Linked DNA regions of Homo sapiens: region 1 is linked to region 2. The links are contacts of gene promoters, found by promoter capture Hi-C in human tissues and cell types (Jung and others, 2019). All regions are on one chromosome and are shown on one strand. The core of a region is centred on a gene start or on the middle of the fragment in contact, and the rest is flanking DNA. Distances in the headings are between cores, read along the strand shown. Region 1 overlaps RYR2 (ryanodine receptor 2). Region 2 holds the start of HEATR1 (HEAT repeat containing 1).

Region 1 (3,825 bases), core at 1,021-3,520, 1.1 Mb before region 2:
GATGCTTTAAAGAGGTCTATAATTTAAAAATCCTAAGAATGCAAAGTACCCACTAACTCTGAAACTCTTCTCACCCTCTTCGACCTTCATTGAACTAGATGGCGAAGGGATCTGAAAGCCTGCCAGGTGACTGAACTAGCACTGTGCCTCTAACTAGCAGTGTGACCGTGGACATTTACGTTGCTCCTCCACCCTCAACTTTCCCATTTATGATATGGGTGTAGACATCTTGTGCTGAAGGAAATCAGCTACATGGAGAGGTAAATGAGTGAGCAGTAACTCTGAGGATATTACCAAACATACCAGCACGGACTCATGAACCCATTCATACTAAACAGTAAAAAAATGCTTGACAGCAGTGGGCTGTCTGTGGCTTAACAACAGATGACCATGGTACAAAATACTTGAAGTGGCAGTGGGAAAATAACATTTTTTACTAATTTGGGGGCACTAATCATACTTTTTGGACTTACACTCCTTTATTTCTATTAACTCCTTATGGCATCTGATTTTCCCTCAGACTTTTCTAGATTCCAAAAGAGCACTGAGGATCAGATGACTAAGGCAAGCAAAGGAGGCATTTTTCTCCTGATTTCCCTAAAGCAGATTCATCTTCTCTGCACAGATGCAGGGATGATAAAAGAGAAGAGAATGGGTGAAAACAAAACTGTGCAGCTTTGGCCCTGATTCTTTTAGTGTTTCTGACTTCTTATTTCTATTTCTCTCTCTCTCACACGCACACACACACACACACACGCACACACACACACACACCCAGGCACCAAGACATCAGGTGGTGACAGATTCCTCCCACCTACCTCTTATCGGCAGTGGGAGTAGAGCTGGCAGGATGCAACTGCCTACAACTGTTGGCTATAAGGATCCTCCCCACTATTAATGTCTCTGAGTGAGAAAACAACTTTGAAAAAAAGACACATGTCGTTTCTGCTCTGAAACTGGCCACAGTCTGTAACCTATCTTCTATGCCCAAGACTCATTTCTCTGGTTTGCTAATCTCAATAACCTAAAAGCCAGGATCCTGACTGTATAGTTCAACACGTTTCCTACTGGTCTGCCATTTTGGTTCTAAACTAGTTCCTCTTTAAAAATGAGATCCATACATGCAGTAAGAGAATTAAAGACTGCGAGGACTAATTTCCCCTACCTCACCACTTAGTCTGCTGCCACTAGGTTAGTTTCCCAACTACAGAATACAAATTTGAGCCAGTACAAGTTGTATGCAGAAGTATGGATGTGCCATTTACGAGTGGTATGACTTAAAGAAAATATCGATCTGGCTCAGAAATTTAAATAATGATGATTTTCTATCATGCTTATTTAGAAAAGCATATAGGTTGAATAGGTCTAATCTAAAAATCTGAAATCCAAATGTTCCAAAATCAGAAACTTTTTGAGTATCTACATGATGCTCAAAGGAAACACTTATTGGAGCATTTAAGCTTTTGGATTTGGGATTTGGGATGCTGAACCAGTAAGTATATGCAAATATTTAAAAAATCAGAAAAAAATCTCAACTTTCAAACAGTTTTGGTTCCAAACATTTTGGATAAGGGATAATCAACCTGTAATAAGATAGCTGCTTATTATTTTTAATTTAACTGTACCACAGTGACTTAAACATAGTTTAAAAAAAGGAACAGACATTTTTTCATGTAATCTGCTCATGTAATAAGCAGTGATTTTGTTTACCAGTTATGTGGGCAATACCCTGTCAAGAATTTCACAAAACAAAACTCTATGACTCATTTGCCATCCATCCATTCATCCATGCATCCATGAGCCAAACAATGAATTAATCATTCATTTAACAAACATTTATGGGGTGGTTTTAGAATACAGGCATATTATCCCTGAGCAGCATTTTGAAATAGGCAATTAAAAATGTGGAATCTTCTCCCTCTCCCTCTCCCTCTCCCGTCTCCCTCTCCCTCTCCCTCTCCCTCTCCAGTCTCCCTCTCCCCACAGTCTCCCTCTCCCCACGGTCTCCCTCTGATGCCGAGCCGAAGCTGGACTGTACAGCTGCCATCTCGGCTCACTGCAACCTCCCTGCCTGATTCTCCTGCCTCAGCCTGCCGAGTGCCTGCGATTGCAGGCGCGCGCCGCCACGCCTGACTGGTTTTCGTATTTTTTTGGTGGAGACGGGGTTTCGCTGTGTTGGCCAGGCCGGTCTCCAGCCCCTAACCGCAAGTGATCCGCCAGCCTCGGCCTCTGGAGGTGCCAGGATTGCAGACGGAGTCTCGTTCACTCAGTGCTCAATGGTGCCCAGGCTGGAGTGCAGTGGCGTGATCTCGGCTCGCTACAACCTCCACCTCCCAGCCGCCTGCCTTGGCCTCCCAAAATGCCGAGATTGCAGCCTCTGCCCGGCCGCCACCCCGTCTGGGAAGTGAGGAGCGTCTCTGCCTGGCCGCCCATCATCTGGGATGTGAGGAGCCCCTCTGCCTGGCTGCCCAGTCTGGAAAGTGAGGAGCGTCTCTGCCCGGCCGCCATCCCATCTAGGAAGTGAGGAGCGCCTCTTCCCAGCCGCCATCACATCTAGGAAGTGAGGAGCGTCTCTGCCCGGCCGCCCATCCTCTGAGATGTGGGGACCGCCTCTGCCCTGCCGCCCCGTCTGGGATGTGAGGAGCGTCTCTGCCCGGCCGCCCCGTCTGAGAAGTGAGGAGACCCTCTGCCTGGCAACTGCCCCGTCTGAGAAGTGAGGAGCCCCTCCGCCCGGCAGCCGCCCCGTGCGGGAGGGAGGTGGGGGGGGTCAGCCCCCCGCCCGGCCAGCCGCCCCGTCCGGGAGGTGAGGGGCGCCTCTGCCCGGCCGCCCCTACTGGGAAGTGAGGAGCCCCTCTGCCAGGCCACCACCCCGTCTGGGAGGTGTACCCAACAGCTCATTGAGAACGGGCCATGATGACAATGGCGGTTTTGTGGAATAGAGAGGGGGGAAAGGTGGGGAAAAGATTGAGAAATCAGATGGTTGCCGTGTCTGTGTAGAAAGAAGTATACATGGGAGACTTTTCATTTTGTTCTGTACTAAGAAAAATTCTTCTGCCTTGGGATCCTGTTGATCTGTGACCTTACCCCCAACCCTGTGCTCTCTGAAACATGTATTGTGTCCACTCAGGGTTAAATGGATTAAGGACGGTGCAAGATGTGCTTTGTTAAACAGATGCTTGAAGGCAGCATGCTCGTTAAGAGTCATCACCACTCCCTAATCTCAAGTACCCAGGGACACAAACACTGCGGAAGGCCGCAGGGTCCTCTGCCTAGGAAAACCAGAGACCTTTGTTCACTTGTTTATCTGCTGACCTTCCCTCCACTATTGTCCTATGACCCTGCCAAATCCCCCTCTGCGAGAAACACCCAAGAATGATCAATAAAAAATAAAAAAAATAAAAAATAAAATGTGGAATCTTCTCTTTTCCTCTCTGTGACCAATCCTAATTTGTGTTACTCTGTTTCCTAGTGCTTGGTGCCAGGTACCATCCTTCCATATCACAGCTTTACCTTTCACCATGAAATATCCCCACTTTCAAAATCTTCTCCCCTTCTACATTTTCACCTAGTCAAATAAATAAAAAGTAGAAGCTTTATTGGCACCTGTAACTATACAATAAGGATTACAAAAGAAATAAATGTTGTGGCCCTGAGCTCGAAAATAGTATATTCCTATCAGGGGAAAGAAAACCATATAGGAAGTCATTAACGACAGCGCATATGCGCGCACACACACAGACACCACATTATAAACAATATGTGTATAGACTAACGGCAAATAAATAATGTTGAAAGATATCATCAGCATAGCATACGTTAAACTGA
Region 2 (3,568 bases), core at 1,062-3,561:
AATGTATTAACTATAGATGTCTTTATCACTCATCCAAAATAATCAGCCAATCAATAGGACACCCGGACAGGAATGATATAATTAAATGCAATCAGATTTTGCTGATTTTCATCTATGTAAAAACATTTTTATTTTGCCATTATAAATGTTTACTCACCAATATTGAGAGTTATAGCATATCCTAGTTAATAATGTGTTAAGTTAATTTATAACTTTTAAATATTTACACCTACAGCAGTGAGTCCATCTGTACTCTTTCTCAGGCTCCATAAGTCTTAGGGATGGGCTTTATGCCAACGTGCTGAAGCCAATATTATAGTGAGGGAATACAAGAAATAAACAGGTAAACAAACAGACAAATCAGGTCATTTCAAGTAGTGATAATGGCTATGAAGAAAATACCAGCTTGGTACATCTGTCCGTCAGATAAAAATATATAATTCAAGATTATTACATTTTTTTTAAAACCAAAGCTTTTTTTTAAAAAAAAATTACATTTATGAACATCTGACTTGTTTTCCTTTTTACTTTCCAAAGTAAAATTCGGCATGGCACTATACACCATCACAGCTGACATAGGAAGGACTGAGTCAAATCTTTGTAGCACTTTTTCAAGTTTCACTTAAATAAAGCTTTTAAAAAATATATAGGGTATTTTTTAAGCAAAAAAAGCAAATTATCTTATCAATGAAACAGACCTGGTGTTCATTTCTTTTAAAGTACCGAAAGCTGATTGCTTCTGTAAAGGTAAAACTCCTGTGACATGTTAGAAAGAAAAAAAAAATTCCTTTGAGAGATATGTTTGTAAGAATGAAATAGGTACTACTAGAATTTTCATGTTATTCTCTGCAAGGCACTCAACACCACATGAAAAGAAGATTATTAACAGTCAGTAGAAATACTAATAACTGAAGAAAATATTTGGTTGTTTTAAATGCTTTTAAAGCAAACCAACAACAAAAGATTCTGTTTGTAAATGGGAGAGAATCTGCATGAGGTATAGACAACCAGGGCCTCCAAATTTGTAGCTGTGTTTCTGACATTCTCCAGGGAAGACGGTTACAGAAAGACTTGACCCCCTGGCCCCGCAGAGCTCTTCAGAGAAATTAATGCATCCAGAAAAGACAGAGCATCAGATCTCACTCCTTCGTCTGGAAGACGTCAGTTCATCCTAGTTCTAGCGCATACCGGTGTTTTGGAAACAGATTAGCTATATTCATACATAAGGATACTCTTCCGCAACACTATCTGTAGTGAGGCCAAGACCAGTGGTTGCGGGAATCTTCGCAAACAGGCAAGAGACAATTTTTAGGGGCGATGGAAACTGTCATTTTGACTGGGGAGGTCATTACACCTATACATGCATTTGCTAAAAGTCATCAAACTCTTCCACTGACGTGGGTGTAACCATTGTTTGTAAATTATACCTCAACAGGATTCGATTAATTTATTTATTGAGACAGTCTCGCTCTGTGGAGTGCAGTGGTGCAATCTTGGCCCACTGCAACCTCCGACTCCCGGGTTCCAGCGATTCTTCTGTCTCAGCTTTCCTAGTAGCTGGGATTACAGGCGCCCGCCACCACGTCCGGCTAATTCTTTTATTTTTAGTAGAGACGGGGTTTCGCTATGTTGGCCAGGCTGGTCCCGAACTCCTGACCTCAGGTGATCAGCTCGCCTGAGCTTCCCAAAGTGCTCGGATTACAGGCCGCGCCTGACTATGATTCGTTTTGAAAGAAAAAAATATATGCCATTTACCCCTCGGGAATGGAAACATAGAGGAGTGACAAGATCTCCCCCAAGCTCTGGGGCGGTGGAGTCCAGCATTTATAGATCGGTTTGCACTAGGAGCAGAAGCTCCTTTCACGACAATCTCGGCCTCTTCCCACTTTGTAGAGTGAGTAACAAGCTCGGAGAGATGAAATAATTTGGTGGCGTTAACCCGGCCGACAGGCGCCAGCGCCAGGATTTGAACCCAAACCACGTGACTTCACAACCCATAGCTTTCAACACTACGCGGTGCTGCTGGCACCTAGTAAAGGCTGGATCACTACTGAATGAATGATTCTGGCTACGGATCCTTAAAGCCCACAGAAGGCCCATCCAGAGACCGAAAGCTTCAGACACAAGCCGCAGAGCAGACCGCTAAACCGGAGCTACAGAGGCGAAGCTCAGACTTGAGCCTGAGTCCGGCGGGCTGAGGGGCGGGCTTTCGTCTCGGGAGGCGGAGCTGTCTCGTCGCATTCCCGGCAAGCTTGAACCTCTTCACTTGCCGTAGCGCCTGCAGCAGGAAGTTGCTCTACAGCATGCCTTAGGTTTCCGGGTGAGGGTTGGGCTCCTTGGTACCATGTGGGAAGCGCTGTGAAGAGTTGTTGCCTTCCAAGATATACCCAAATTCCCAGTTCCAGGTAAGCGGCACAGAGCCGCTTGATGTGGCTGCGGATGGGGGCGGCATATCGAGGGAGGGTAAGAGTTTTCCGGATATCTGCGGAATCAGGGTTGAAGGAAAGCCTTGGCGCGGTCGCCGCTACTGTAATTAGTTGTTAACGCTGCTGCCATCGTCTTTGCATCTCCGGGGTCCACAAATCTCAGGACACCCGCGTTGTGTGTCCATGACGGTGCTGAGTGCAGAAGAGAATTGTTTGTTTACGAGGCGCCTTATAATTTCGTAGAAACTTATCAAAGTGCTTACGTTTTTTTAGCCCGTGTCATTAAAACTCCGCTGGCGTGAAAGATGACGTCCTTAGCCCAGCAGCTGCAACGACTCGCCCTCCCTCAAAGTGATGCCAGCCTCTTATCTAGAGATGAAGTTGCTTCTTTGTTATTTGACCCTAAGGAAGCGGCCACAATCGACAGGGACACCGCCTTCGCCATTGGTGAGCCATCTTTTAACTTAGAAAAGCTCTTGGAAGCGTTTGTTTTCTGGATGTTACTGTTTTTTTTTTTTCCCCTTGTTTTCTCTTCTGTCCCGTCCTCTTCCTTAGCAGTTTCTAGCATGTTGATGTATATTTTTAAGGGAAAGAGAACATAACAGTCAGGTGCTTGGTGCTTGAAATGTTTATGAGTAGAGGTATCTGGATTTCACAGATGAAGAAACAAAATTAGAGAGGTCAACTAATATGTCAAAGAGAAGAACAGCTAAAAGGGGGATGGAGGCAGTGACTGGGGTGACGGAGAAGTCCTCTCAGAGGACTGGCCTAGTTATTGTAGGGGATATCCAAAAAAAAAAAAAAAAAAGTGTTCCCTGCCACGAAGTACTTTCTGTTCTAGTAGATGAGATAGGATTTACTCTAAAAGTTGAAAACTAGAAATCAGTGTTTGGGACTGTATTATAAATTATATGTACTTAAAGAATTCAGAAACTTCTTAGGGGTAAGTAAAACTGTAAAAGAGGGGTGGGATGAATTTGCTTACGAAGAATTGTTAAATAAACTGGCCTTTTTTGAAATTTAGGATGTACTGGCCTGGAAGAGTTGCTTGGAATTGATCCTTCCTTTGAGCAGTTTGAAGCACCGTTGTTCAGTCAGCTAGCAAAAACCTTGGAGCGAAGTGTTCAGACCAAAGCAGTAAA

The links. Contacts are between HindIII fragments. The study calls those that stand out against the background at their distance.
Region 1: a contact is called between a fragment that was not itself captured here and the fragment with the promoter of HEATR1 in region 2, in 1 of the 25 tissues and cell types used here (dorsolateral prefrontal cortex).

The regions. Positions count from the first base shown.
Region 1 is chr1:237,668,452-237,672,276 of GRCh38, reverse strand. All of the region lies in intron 58 of RYR2 (ryanodine receptor 2), which reads right to left. Among named protein-coding and RNA genes, the nearest start is that of MIR4428, 200 kb to the right of the region's middle. The HindIII fragment of the contact is 5,329 bases long and covers 1-3,825 here.
Region 2 is chr1:236,603,259-236,606,826 of GRCh38, reverse strand. It overlaps HEATR1 (HEAT repeat containing 1), which reads left to right and starts at 2,311. Exons shown (of 45, transcript NM_018072.6): 1 at 2,311-2,405; 2 at 2,700-2,873; 3 at 3,451-3,568. The coding sequence starts at 2,732. RefSeq lists an enhancer at 2,111-2,370. The HindIII fragment of the contact is 3,901 bases long and covers 1,374-3,568 here.